Regions from separate parts of the Homo sapiens genome. Here region 1 is linked to region 2. Evidence: promoter capture Hi-C in human tissues and cell types (Jung and others, 2019). All regions are on one chromosome and are shown on one strand. Each heading gives the region's core, a stretch centred on a gene start or on the middle of the fragment in contact. The rest is flanking DNA. Distances are from core to core; before and after follow the strand shown.

Region 1 (6,734 bases), core at 2,432-4,931, 1.0 Mb after region 2:
GAAATAGTGTTCTTAACAGGTCCAAGTTTCAGATCGCTATAACACTTATTCACACACATATTTATTTTACATTATTTGCATTATCTATATATACATAGATATGTACACAGAGGGAGAGAAAGGAAGGGAGGGATGGAGAGAGAGAGAGAAAGCTTTTAATGTAGGCTTATAATTTAGTTATCTACCTAGGTGTAGATATTAATTTGTAAATCAAGTACATGTACTACTATCATTGGCAAATATACATGCAGGGCAAGGATCATTTTTAATGACCACAGATATCAAAGTATTCTTAATAATGTCATTAATTGGATATCTGACTTTACATTTGATTTTATGAGCTTATTGTTTATTTTACTAATAGTAGGAATAGGAGGAAGAAAATCAACTTTGACTTTTTTCTTATTCGTGTTCACATTTTGCGCTTGCATTTGCAGTATTTTCTTCAATCAATGATGTCTTTGAAGGAAATTTTTTTCAATTTATTTGTTCACTTGGTGAAGATTAGAGTTGCAGACATCATTGTTCTTTTCTGATATCTGGTTCCCCTCTACTTCTAGGTATGTTTGAGGATTTCTGTGTTACTTTGGGGTTAGGTGTTGTTATATGAGTATTTCCAGCTTATGATATTGGGCAAACGTGACATGTTGCCTCTGGGCCAGAGCATTTAAATGTTGGTGTTAAACCTCTTCTCTTTTTTCTGTTGTTGTGAGCAGTGACTTTCCAAAGTGGAAAGCATAACTAGAAGCTGCAATAATTACTTTCTATTATCCAAAAGCTGATCTTTCCAGGGTCTTAGAACCACCATGTAATCTTCACAGAACAGATCTAATAAGTAGTATAGGGTTATGAACATGACTGGATTTCCTATGGAAAACAGTAGAAGCAACCACATTCTGTGATCTGCTTCACGTGGGCCAAATCCCATAGATGAGTGGTCACAATCAGCAAAGTTAAAGATACTTAAATTTACTTATTGATTGGTTTATTTATTCCTACTTTATAGTAAGCTAAATCAAAGAATCAGGACCTCTACAGTGACTCTGCAGTTTAATAAACAAGCTATGCTATTCTACAGTTAGAAAGATCATAAAATCTTTGCACTTTAATAAGTTCATAAACCATAACATTAAAAGGGGCCAGGCACGATGGCTCATGCCTGTAATCTCAGCACTTTGTAAGGCAGAGGCTGGCAGATCACCTGAGGTCAGGAGTTCAAGACGAGCATGGCCAACATGGCAAAGCCCTGTCTCTACTAACAACAAAAATTAGCTGGGCGTGGCGGCACGCTCTTGTAATCCCAGCTACTTGCTGAGGCAGGAGAATCACCTGAAGCCAGGAAGCAGAGCTTGCAGTGAGCCGAAATCATGCCATTGCACTCCAGCCTGGGCAACAAGAACAAAACTCTGTTTCAAAAAAAAAAAAACAAAACAAAACAAACAAACAAAACTAAAAAGATATAAATTATTCCAGGGAATATTCACAAATCAGTGTTAAAACATAGATGTGGCCTCTTCCAATTTTGGAAGAGAAAATTTGTCTTGGGAAGCATATGCCAAATGAAAGGGCTTGTTTCAGTGAATTTAAAGAAACCTTTGAGTTTCAGTTTAAGTGTGTTGACCTTTAGCTTAAGACAATTTATTGTAGGAAATTGATTTTCACAGGTCCCTCAACAGGTCCCAAATGGCAGACTTCAGTGCCTTGATTTTGAGACAAGAATAGCATCATATACTGGTAATGTGGCCAGTGTCTAAGAAGTGATTTAAAAAACTGTGTTAAAAGGCAATTTTCTAACAGAGTCAATGTAACATTTACAGATAAATATTCAAATAGCTTGTTATAATCATCCATCTATCATTTACATACAGTGCATTAAATGAGAATGTATTTTGTCTACTAAATGTTAGGAGCTGGTTTGCAAAGACAAACAGGACATTGTTCTGGAAGGGCTCATAAACTGGTGGAGGAGAACAGAAAATCTATCCATTATAGAAGTCGGAAGAATGAAGTATGGCAACAGAAATAGCTTTGGGAGGTGGAGAGGGATATGGAGAAGCTTTTCTAGAGGGGACGACTGCTGCTCTGGGAATGGTTGGCCAGAAACATCAAAGGGGAGTGCATTCCAAGATGATGTATTAAACATGAAAACACCTGAGAGAACATGGGTCATTCAGACATTTACAGAAGCTTTGCTTCATTTACTACATATTCATTGTATTCATTAATTCAACACATATGTGTGGATACTATATGTCAGGTACTATGTTACAAATTTAGATTATAACTCTGAATGAGAGAGACATAGTCCCTACCCCAAAAGAGTTAACAATCTAGTAGAAGAGATTTATTTTTTGAAAAAAATTCCCCATATTGTGATAAAGAGCTAGAAAGATTAGGTAGACACCACTCTAGTGATATGAAAAGAGGAGAACTTAACCTGGATTAGTGGGGTCTGTGAAAGAAGTGATTTCTAAGCTGATATCTGAGGATGAAGAGCATTTATTAAAGACCAGGAAGTAGAAGAACATTTGAGGTAGAGGAAATATCATACAAAAAAGATCTTCAAGTCAGCAAGAAAGTGTATTACCTTGAGAACCAGGGTTATTTCAATGTGACTGGAAGAAAGGGTTTGAAGTGGGGATAACAAGCACTGAGTTGGAAGGACATGACTGCTTTTGGGACCTGTGTGCCTCCACACTTCCTGCCTATAGCTCTGAAGTGAGAGACAGTGAAGCTAAAATACACAAAGGTGTAAAAGAAAAAATAATTAGAGAGTCACGGCAGTGTTTATGTTCCCCATTCTAGCCATACATGAAGTCCGTAGGCCACCCTGTTCTATTACATTGGTTATTTAAATCTTCCCTGAATTTCACCAGTATTTTTGGCCTAACTAGATAGAGTTGACTTAATCTCACTAGCAGGCAAGAATACTAAGAAATGCTCTCATTAATAGAGCTTCTTATTCCCTTTCTCTAGTCTAACATTGTGTTGTGATTACTTGCCATATTCTTTCTTCCCAACTAAAGTATGAACAGAGGGGACCATGTGTCACCATCCTTGTTTCCCGAATACATGGAAGACGCAGTGAGAAGACTAAATAAGGCACATCACCCTGCCAACCTGTGAGTCAGGAGGCCCTATTTCTAGACTGACTGGCTATTACTAGCTGTTTGGTCCCTGTCCCGCTTCTGTAGGAATCTGTGCTTTTGTTTCATGTCTATGACAAACTTAGTAGATTAGATGCTGAGATCTTTGAGTTCTAAGTTTGAAAAAGCCTGTGAGTCCCCCTAATTAGGCCATACAGCTTCAGTGAGGTTCAGAATGAGTATTGCTTTATATCCTGTCAAGGCACTTAGCTTAGAGGTTTTTAATATTGGAATCCTAGCTCTGCTCAATATCCATCAATATTTACTTATTTCTTATTTTTTGAGACGGAGTCTTGCTCTGTTGCCCAGGCTGGAGTGCAGTGGTGCGATCTCGGCTCACTGCACCCTCCGCCTCCTGGATTCAAGTGATTCTCGTGCCTCAGCTTCAGGAGTAGCTGGGATTACAGGCACCTGCCACCATGCCCAGCTAATTTTTTTGTATTTTTAGTAGAGAGGAGGTTTCACTAAGTTAGACAGTCTGGTCTTGAACTTCTGTCCTCAAGTGATCCATCCCGCTCAACCTCCCGAAGTGCTTGGATTACAGGCATGAGCCTGGCCAATCTCCATCAATCTTAGCTTTCTCTTCAGTTATATGACAAATATTAATTTTCATTTTGTAGAGTTATTTTGAAGATTAAATGGCATGCAAAAAATGTCAAATACATTGCCTAGCATTTAGGTGCTAGAAATTTGAGCTCTCCTCCCTAGCCCATAGAAACATCAATCAATATTTGTTGTTTGTTTTGCCTTAGGTGTTAGTATAAAGCAGAAGGAGATGATAAAGTTAGGCAGAAATTCTAACTTTACTTCCCTAAGAGGAGAAAACAGGAAGGGTTCAGATTTTTGTATTCATGAGCCTCTTCCTAGTTTCAAGTTTTTATTATCTATTTAACAAAACAAATGTACTGATTCTCTATTCTGAGTCACTGCATTAGATTTTCTAGTCTTAAAGAAGTCAGCCCAAAACACCGAAAATGGAAATGAACCCAGTTTCAGACCAAATTACCTGGAACTCAAACCAGGAAATGTAACCTGACAAATACCTATGTGCTTTTGGGGGTGTCAAGATAGACTGTTTGAAATTGATTGTCTTGATTGTCATAGAAATGAGAACAGTGTATGTAAGAAGAACATTTTCTTCCCAGTTCCTGTCACATCCACTTCACCAACCAATTCTTTCTCATTGGTCAAATGTAAGTGCTTTTCCACATTCATTTCCTCTATCCACTGGGACATGAAATTGTCAGCCACACGTAAATACCTTCTATATCAAAGCTAAAGTGATACATGCCTGAGAAGAGGTGATAGACATATCCCCACAGGAATTCAGAGATGAAGACAGTATCTCCAGCTGGAACTTCTCTTTTCTCTCTATACTATTCCCCAAACCCTAGCTGCTTAGGGTTCAGCAACATCCACTTTCTCAAGAGCTGGACTGTAAGTTTCAGCAAGGTGAGTGAAAAATCAGTAAATTACACTGCAGAGCTTAAGTCAGGTTGCCTTTATAATTTGACACATTTTACAAGTGTTTGATTTAAAAACAAATGTAGTTAAAGAAGTTGGAACTGCAAATGCCCCTCTCCATTGTTTTCTGGTAAGGAGAAGTATTTCTTTAAGGCAAACATTTTCTGAATTGGATAGCCGCACACATGCCACAGCATCTCTCATTTTCAGTGAATCAAATTTTTAAAGGAACCTGCTTTTTCAGCTGCTCTGTATTGGATGCTCAAAGGATTTTTTTTTAAATAGGTTAAATTGAGGTAGTTTTTGGCAGGCCTGTAACATGCGCAGTAAATGCATGGCTTTAGGATTTTGTGAGTCAAAGACCAAATGGAGTAATTACTTGATGTCTGTTATGGACTGAATTATGTTTCTACAATATTCATATGTTGAAGGCTTAACCCCAATGCAGTGGTATTTGGAGATGGGGCCTTTGGGAGATAATTAGGTTTAGATGGGGTTATAAGGGTATGACCCTCATGGCAGGATTAGTGCCCTTATTAGAAGAGGCAGCAAAGAGTTGGGACTCCCTTTCTCTGCTATGTGAGGACACAGAGAGAAGATGCCCATTTGCAAGAGAGAAAGCGTGCCGCTTCCAGACCCCAACTATGCTGGCACCCTGATCTTAGACTCCTAGTCTCCAGAACAGTGAGAAAATAAATTTCTGTTGTTTAAGCTCTTCAGTGTGAAGTATTTTGTTACGGTGGCCCAAGCAAATATAGTCCCAACTTTTCTTCATGTATATATGTTAAGTTTCATGTATGGGAAACAAGCATGGAACTCTGTGGTTGAGTTACTTTCTAGGAAGATTCATGGCAAATAATGTCATTTTCATCTGAACAAATAGTGGCTCTGTGTGTCATGGCAGAAATGGATGGGAAAAGTGCATGATTTCCCCATGGTAGGAGTAAGATGGTTTTACTGAAGAGTGGCCTTGAGCCAATCCTGAGAAACTGTGTCCCAGGATGCAGCAGGACTCCACTGAAAGATGATGCTTGTTTCTCACAGCTCATGGACAGATCTAGGAGTTTGTCTCTCTCCTACCACCACCAAATTCAGCCTGTAAACTAAAACAAATGAGAGAGAAAGAAGCAAATAAATGCTGACTGAGGTCTATTCAGTGACTGTGTTTTCCAGGTATCCTGATGTAGGATTTCTGCAGATTATCTTAAATAATTATAATACTCTCTTTCTCAACCTAAACACCTTTCCCTCCTACCAATTTAGAGCTGGTTAAAGTGAAGCTTACAGAGAGAGGTTGATTGAATATCTCAGTATCACGTGGTGAGTAAAGATGGGGCTGAGACTTCAATCCAGGGGCATCTCATGTTTGTGTCATGTCTGACTGCTGTCAGTTGCAAAGACAGTCTCACAATCATTTTCCCTAAAGAAGTAAGGAGAAACTTTCATCCACTGAAAGGACCTACTCTAGCCACAGCACTGAAGGAAGAATCTCCACCTGAGAGTGGAGCAAAAATTCCAACTCTCAGCTTCAGCTGTTGTCTCTGCCTGGTCCATAATGAAAAGGAAAGGAACTCCACCAATATCAACCACCTAGAGGCAGGGCAGTGAGGGTTTTCTGCTTAATGGAATATCCTCCCTCTTATCCTGTATCCTTGGAAATGACTCCAAGCGCAAAGTTATAATAAGTTTAATTAACAAAAAATATTTTATGTGCTCAATTCAAATATTGAGTGGGCAGATGATACGCTGATTCTGAGATGCATAAAGCAAAGAATGACTGTACTACAGGGAGAAATTGTACAATTTCTCATTAGAGTGAGTGATTTTTAACATATCTCTCTCTCGGTAATTGATGAATATAGATGACTCTGACAACACAGTTAATGAGTCTTATTTAAAGGTATACATAGGGTCCTGAGTTAAGGAATCAGAGAATACATATTCTTCACACAGAGTATTTACAACAACGAACCGTGTACTATATATTGCAAAGGAAATCTTAATACATTTCAGAAGCTTGAAAATATTCAGACCAGGTTGCATTGACTACAAAGCAATTGACTTTGAAATCAGTTATCTCATTCATTTAGAAAATTTTTTGAACAGCTTCTATATAATTGGTAC
Region 2 (6,784 bases), core at 2,608-5,107:
ACTTGAACCCGGGAGGCAGAGGTTGTAGTGAGCCAACATTGCACCACTGCACTCCAAAACCAACCTGGGTGACAGGGCGTGATTCCCTCTCAAAACAAAAAAAGGTACATTCAAATCATACTAACATTCCATTCCCAACCAGTTGGTTGTTAAACAAATCATGTTTATTTGACCCAAGTCTCACCACCGCTGTCTCAACTGCCCTGGTACAAGTCACCATCCTCTCTGCACTCCTAGATTACTCTCTTTCACTGGTCTCCCTGCCTTCTCCACTTGTTCTCCTGTTATCTGTATGACTAGAAAGATTATTTTAAAACATAAATCAGGCCGGGCCCAGTGGCTCATGCCTGTATTCTCAGAATTTTGGGAGGCCAAGGTGGGAGGATCACTTGAGGCCAGGAGCTCAAGATTAGCCTGGGCAACATAGTGAGACCTTATCTCTAAAAATTAAAAATAGGAGTTACATCGTGTCACTCCTTAGCAACTTAGTTTATGCAAGGCACAGTATTAAACCTCTACATAGATTATCTTGTTCTTAGTAATTTTTCTAAGGCAGTGTTCTCTCATCTTATAAATGAAGTGATGGGTTTTCAGCAAAATCCAAAAAATGTTAGTGCTTTTTTGTGCAGTACTCTAGGAGGACTGCAAGAGAAATACCACTGACCATGTTCGCAGGAAATTTACAATGAGGTTAGGTAAACTGGATATTAATGAGACTTGAAAGGCTGGGCACGGTGGCTCACTCCTATAATTCCAGCACTTTGGGAGGCCGAGGTAGGTGGACTGCTTGAGCCCAGGAGTTCAAGACCAGCCTGGGCAACATGGCAAGACCCCATCTCTACAAAAAATTAGCCAGGTGTGTTGGCACATGCCTGTAGTTCCAGCTACTTGGGAGGCTGATTGGGAGAATTGCTGGAGCCTGGGAGGCGGAAGTTATGGTGAGCTGTAATTGTGAAACTGCACTGCAGCCTGGGCAACAGAGTAAGACCCTGTCTCAAAAAAAATATATATATATAGAGAGAGATTTGCAAAAAAGTAAAATGATGCCATACTTTTTACTTATTCCTTATTTTAGAAAATAGAGTATTAGTTTTAATAAAGATTGTTTTTGTTAACATTTAATGAATTATTTTTTAATGAATTGATTTTTAAAATTCTGTTTTTGTTTTTTTTGAGACGGAGTCTTGCTCTCAACCAGGCTGCAGTGTAGTGGCATGATCTCGGCTCACTGCAAGCTCTGCCTCCTGGGTTCACCCCATTCTCCGGCCTCAGCCTCCCAAGTAACTGGGACTACAGGCGCCCGCCACAACGCCTGGCTAATTTTTTGTATTTTTAGTAGAGATGGGGTTTCACCATGTTAGCCAGGATGGTCTTGATCTCCTGACCTTGTGATCCGGCTGCCTCGGCCTCCCAAAGTGCTGGGATTACAGGCATGAGCCACTGCCTCCAGCCTAAAATTCTCAGTTTTAACTTATCAGATAAATATTAGCAGACTTAACCCACATAAACAAAAACTTTGGGATCCTCAATAATTTTTAGGAGTGTAAAGGGGTCTTGAGACCAAAACTGTCTGAAAACTGCTGGAGTAGGCTTGTTTCCTCCTGGCGGTCTCTTCTGGTTCTTTCAGTCATCACATATTTATTATATCTATTATGCCAGGCACCATTCTAGATTCTGGGGATACAGGTGAATAAGATGGGCAGGCTCTGATGCACGGAACTTATTTTCTAGTTGGCATGTGTATGACAGAGAGAGAAGGAGGAGGAGGGCAGGTGATTCAGTTATGAAAAAATGAACAAGATAATTTCAGATTACATAAATGTTGTGAAGAAAATTAAACAGGGGAAAGTACTTAGGAGTGGGGATCTAAGTGAAACTGAGGCTGGGAAGATGACTTGATCCGAGCCTGGTTGGCAAAGGGAAGCTCCTGCTTTTTCTCTGAACATTTCTGCCCTGGCTCACTCCTCTGGCAATGAGCTTCCTGTGGTTCCTTAAACATCCCAGGCAGGCTGCTTCTTCAGGGATCCTTCGGTGTAGAAAGCACTCCTAGTTAAATTTTCATGCCAGTCACTACAGTCCAGATCTCCTTGGAGAGGCCTCCTCCAATCACCTATCTCAAAGAACACCCCTCTCACTAGCCATCCCCTTACTGGGTTTCATTTTCCTTCCCAGCTCTTCTCTCTGCACAATATTGCTATGTATTTATGTGCTTGTCTGTCTCCTTCCAGAGATTTGGGATGATTGCTATAACCTCCAGATCATTAAATAGTGCCTGGGAAGTGGAGCGCTCAGTAAGTGTGCTGGGTAATAACTGTAAAATCAGATATAATGAAAAAAAGTTATTTGGTTTTAAAGAGATAAATAAGAAGGTTGGGCACGGTGGCTCACGCCTGTAATCCTAGCACTTTGGAAGACCGAGGCGGGCGGATTGTCTGAGCTCAGGAGTTCGAGACCAGCCTGGGCAACAAGGTGAAACCCCGGCGCTACTAAAATACAGAAAAACTAGCCGAGCGGCGGGCGCCTGTAGTCCCAGCTACTCGGAAGGCTGAGGCAGGAGAATTGCTTGAACCCAGGAGGCGGAGGTTTCAGTGAGCCGAGATCGCGCCACTGCATTCCAGCCTGGGCGACAGAGCGAGACTCCGTCACCAAAAAAAAAGAGAGAGATAAGCAAATGTTAAAAGCAGGTTACTACAAGATTAGCAGCCTAGTGCCGGGCGCGGTGGCTCACGCCTGTAATCTCAGCACTTTGGGAGGCCGAGTCGGGCGGATCACGAGGTTAGGAGATCGAGACCATCCTGGCTAACACGGTGAAACCCCATCTCTACCAAATATACAAAAAATTAGCTGGGCGTGGTGGCGGGCGCCTGTAGTCCCAGCTACTCGGGATGCTGAGGCAGGAGAATGGCGTGAACCCGGGAGGCGGAGCTTGCAGTGAGCCAAGATCGCGCCACTGCACTCCAGCCTGGGCGACAAAGCGAGACTCTGTCTCAAAAAAAAAAAATTAGCAGCCTGGCGCCTTGGCTCATTACTGTATTCCCAACACTTTGGGAGGCCGCGGCGGTAGAATCACTTGAGCTCAGTAAAACACCTGACTCAACTAAAAAAAAAAAAAAAAAAAAAAAAAAAAGCCCGTCGCGACTGCACGCACCTGTGGTCCTAGCTACTTGGGTGGCTGAAGTAGGGGGATTGTTTGAGCCCGGGAGGTCGAGCCCTGATCATGACACTGCACTCCGGCCAGGGCGACAGAACGAGACCCTGAGAAAAAAGAAAAGAAAGAAAAAAAAAGATTAGCATAGTGACTTTCTCTTTGATGTAACCATAAATATTTAAAGACATCAGTGCCGGGCACATTGGGAACCTCAACAAAGTTGTTTCCGTTATCCATCTCCGACCAGAATTCAGGAAGAACTTTGCCTGTCTTGTTCCCGCTATAACCAATGACTCAACAAATGTTTGTGGAGTGAGTGGGTGACCCTCTCCTTTTACCAACGGTAAACAGCCCGCGGAAAGAAAAAGTGACTTAGCCAAAGTCTCTCCAGGCATTTGGGGCAGAGTCGGGACTAGCATAGTAGTATCCTGACTCTCGCAGGAGGGCTCGCTCCACTGTAGTTATTAATTCTCCTCTCCACACAACCAGGTCTAATCCGGCCAAAGTCTTCAATTCTTAAGCTAAGAAAAAAGGAAAATACATGTAAACTCTGTTTTGCGATAGACAAGAAAACAGAAGAATTAAAAATCCTCCTTCCGGGGTGCACCAGAATCCTCCCATCGCTCGGTCCTGTCACGTGACCACGCCTACTACACCAGCCACGTGAGCTTCTGAGCCGGCTTCCGCGCAGGCGCAGTGGATCTCTCTTGCGCCATTCCAAACATGGCGGCTCCACTAGGGGGTATGTTTTCTGGGCAGCCACCCGGTCCCCCTCAGGCCCCGCCGGGCCTTCCGGGCCAAGCTTCGCTTCTTCAGGCAGCTCCAGGCGCTCCTAGACCTTCCAGCAGTACTTTGGTGGACGAGTTGGAGTCATCTTTCGAGGTAATATAAGACATGGGCGTCTTTGTCCCTAGCCTTCCCTTTTTTCTGAAACGTGAACTGCGCGTACGCGTATCTCCTCCAGGGATCCGAGCAACTAATTCACAAATGGGGAAACTGAGGCTTAAAGTAAGTCACTTGCTTTAGGCTTCCCCGTGGCCCGTATTCAATTCAGGTCTGCTGGCGGGGGCGCGTAAACTCGACGTTTGTGGAAACGTGAACCCGAAGTTTGCCTAAACCCCAAACTTGGAACCCTTCCAGATTCCCAGCCGGTCCTTAGTCTCATCCCCGAGCACCGTTTCTTGCATCCCTGCATGTTTAGTAAGAGGCTCAAGCCTTTTCGGAGCTGAGAGTTTCACTGCTGTATCCTGTATCCTTTCCGCTGGGCTTCACCTTTAAACGATCCTAAAGGGACTCTTAAGAGCGGAAATTGACTTAAGTTACCAGGCGCAGCTTGGTACTAAGAGCTGAGGAAGGAGGAATGCTGGAGGTTAGGGAGGGAGGGAGGCACAGGTGACCCAATCTCTCAGTTTTGCCCAAGGAGTTTACCTTGTAGCAAGAAAGGTGAACTGTATATTGAGGGAAGATAGAGAGGTGAAAATAAGTGCTCTGGTGATTTCCAGTAGTCTTTAAAGTGGAAGATGAGCTATTCCTGTGTAGTAATAAAGTAATGTACGTTCAAATTGGAGTTAACTTTTCCACATTTTAAATCCCAGTTTTGCCGGGCGCGGTGGCTCACGCCTGTAATCCCAGCACTTTGGGAGGCCGAGGCTGGCGGATCATGAGGTCAGGAGTTCGAGACCAGCCTGACCAACATGGTGAAACCCTGACTCTACTAAAAATACAAAAATTAGCCAGGCGTGGTGGCGTGCGCCTGTAATCCCAGGTACTCGAGAGGCTGAGGCAGGAGAATCGCTTGAACCTGGGATGCGGAGGTTGCAGTGAGCGGAGACCGCGCCATTGCACTCCAGCGTGGGTGACAAGAGCTCGACTCCGTCTCAAAAAAGTAAAATAAAATATAAATAAATAAAAATCCCAACTTTGTGACTTTTGTATTGTATCTAATAGCACAGTGGTAAATGAATATAATTTGCAAGCGATTATTCAGACTGCATGGACAAAATGCTTTTACCACACGGATGTACAAAGATTTAGAAATAAATGATTTGAGATGGAGTCTCACTCTCTCGCCCAGGCTGGAGTACAGTGGCGCAATTTCGGCTTACTGCAACCTCCGCCTCCCGGGTTCAAGCGATTTTCCTGCCTCAGCCTCCCGAGTTGCTGGGATTACAGGCACCTGCCACCATGCTATTTTTTTTATTTTTTAGTAGAGACAGGGCTTCACTATCTTGGCCAGGCTGGTCTCGAACTCCTGACCTCGTGATCCACCCGCCTCGGCCTCCCAAAGTGCTGGGATTACAGGCGTGAGCCACTGCGCCTAGCCAGAAATAAATGATTTAAAGGACAGACCGTTTAGGAGGAGGAGGAGGAGACACCTTTGAGGTGGTGCTAAGTGGTAAAGGAAGGGGCTGGTGAACTTTAGAGCAGCATCTAGCATTGTGCTTGAGGGGAGCTGGCTCTCAGTCATGGGCACTTGCTGAAAGACTGGCCCTGTACAAGTCTTAGCCAAAGTTGACTCCCAGCACCCTGCTGCTTAAAAACGTACAGTGGCTGCTTGTTGCCCTTGAGATAAGATCAAGATGTTTAGTGTGGTCTCCCAGGCTTTGCATGTTGCGTTCTCTCCTTCAGACTCGTTTCCTTACTGCAGCCACACAAGACTTTCCCACGTGTACCATTTGTTTTCTCTTTGGGCTTCCAGGCCGCTCCTCAGCTCACTGCATCACTTCCTCAGTGGACCCTTCCCTGGCCTTCTTTTTAATACTTACCATTAAATTCGGCTCCATGAAGTCAGAGACTACCTGTTTTGTACCCCCACCCCTCACATTGTGTAACCTGTAGTGCTAATACAGTGGTAGTAGATAGCAAGTGCTAGATGAATATTTGTCAGACATTGAAGGAATCTGTAGTGTGGAGCCTGTAGTGTAGTTGGCTTGTGCACAGAACTCCTTGCCTGATTCACATATATGTCTGTAGGTGCCCTTGAGAGAGAACTCCCTCTGGGACTTGATTATCCATACAGAGAATACAGAGAAAACCAGTCCCTGCCTTCAGGAAGCTTGTAATAAACGGCAGGCAGTTGCCTTGTTGTAGGATCACTGCTCTGATAGAAGAAACCTGGGGTACTGTGGGAGCACATATAGGTGTGGACATCAAAGAAGGCTTCCCAGAGAGCAGGAAAGCCAAAGAAGCATTTTGACTTAGCCAGGTGAAGGGGAGTGGGAGTGGTGCGAGCTGGATCCTCTCTGCTGCTGGGTGATCACGATCTGTCTAGTCTTGTCTCACGATTCAATTCAAAGGCCACATTTTCTTTGGAACTTTTCCTGTTTCCTTCCTTGTGTTCTGTGTGGACCTCAATTTTCACAGCCTCCAGTGGCACATAGCAGCACCTACTTACCTGCTTCTCATTCCTATTGGGGTGCCACTCCTTGAGGTCTCTGTCTGCTCATTCTAGCTGCTTAGCACATGCTCTTTGATGGAAGGAATTTATTGAGCTCATGCACTCTTGATTTTGGAGGGAACGTTGGAGACCATCTAGTTCCATTTCCTCCATTCATAGGTAGAGAAACTGAGGCTCAGTGAGGGCAAGTTACTTGCTGAAAGCCAGCCGTTGGGTTTGTGGAAATGAGGACAAGCACT

What was found. The method cuts DNA at HindIII sites, captures the fragments that hold promoters and counts their contacts. A contact is called where the count stands out against the background at its distance.
Region 1: a fragment that was not itself captured here is called in contact with the fragment with the promoter of MED28 in region 2 in 1 of the 25 tissues and cell types used here (dorsolateral prefrontal cortex).

The regions. Positions count from the first base shown.
Region 1 is chr4:18,615,630-18,622,363 of GRCh38, forward strand. The region is part of intron 1 of LOC105374510 (a long non-coding RNA gene); the gene reads left to right. Among named protein-coding and RNA genes, the nearest start is that of LCORL, 600 kb to the left of the region's middle. The HindIII fragment of the contact is 5,154 bases long and covers 1,105-6,258 here.
Region 2 is chr4:17,610,784-17,617,567 of GRCh38, forward strand. It overlaps MED28 (mediator complex subunit 28), which reads left to right and starts at 3,858. Exons shown (of 4, transcript NM_025205.5): 1 at 3,858-4,030. The coding sequence starts at 3,872. It overlaps MED28-DT (MED28 divergent transcript), which reads right to left and starts at 3,797. Exons shown (of 3, transcript NR_186331.1): 1 at 3,359-3,797; 2 at 3,149-3,255. RefSeq lists enhancers at 3,203-4,402, 3,508-3,797, 3,898-4,007. The HindIII fragment of the contact is 9,307 bases long and covers 1-5,076 here.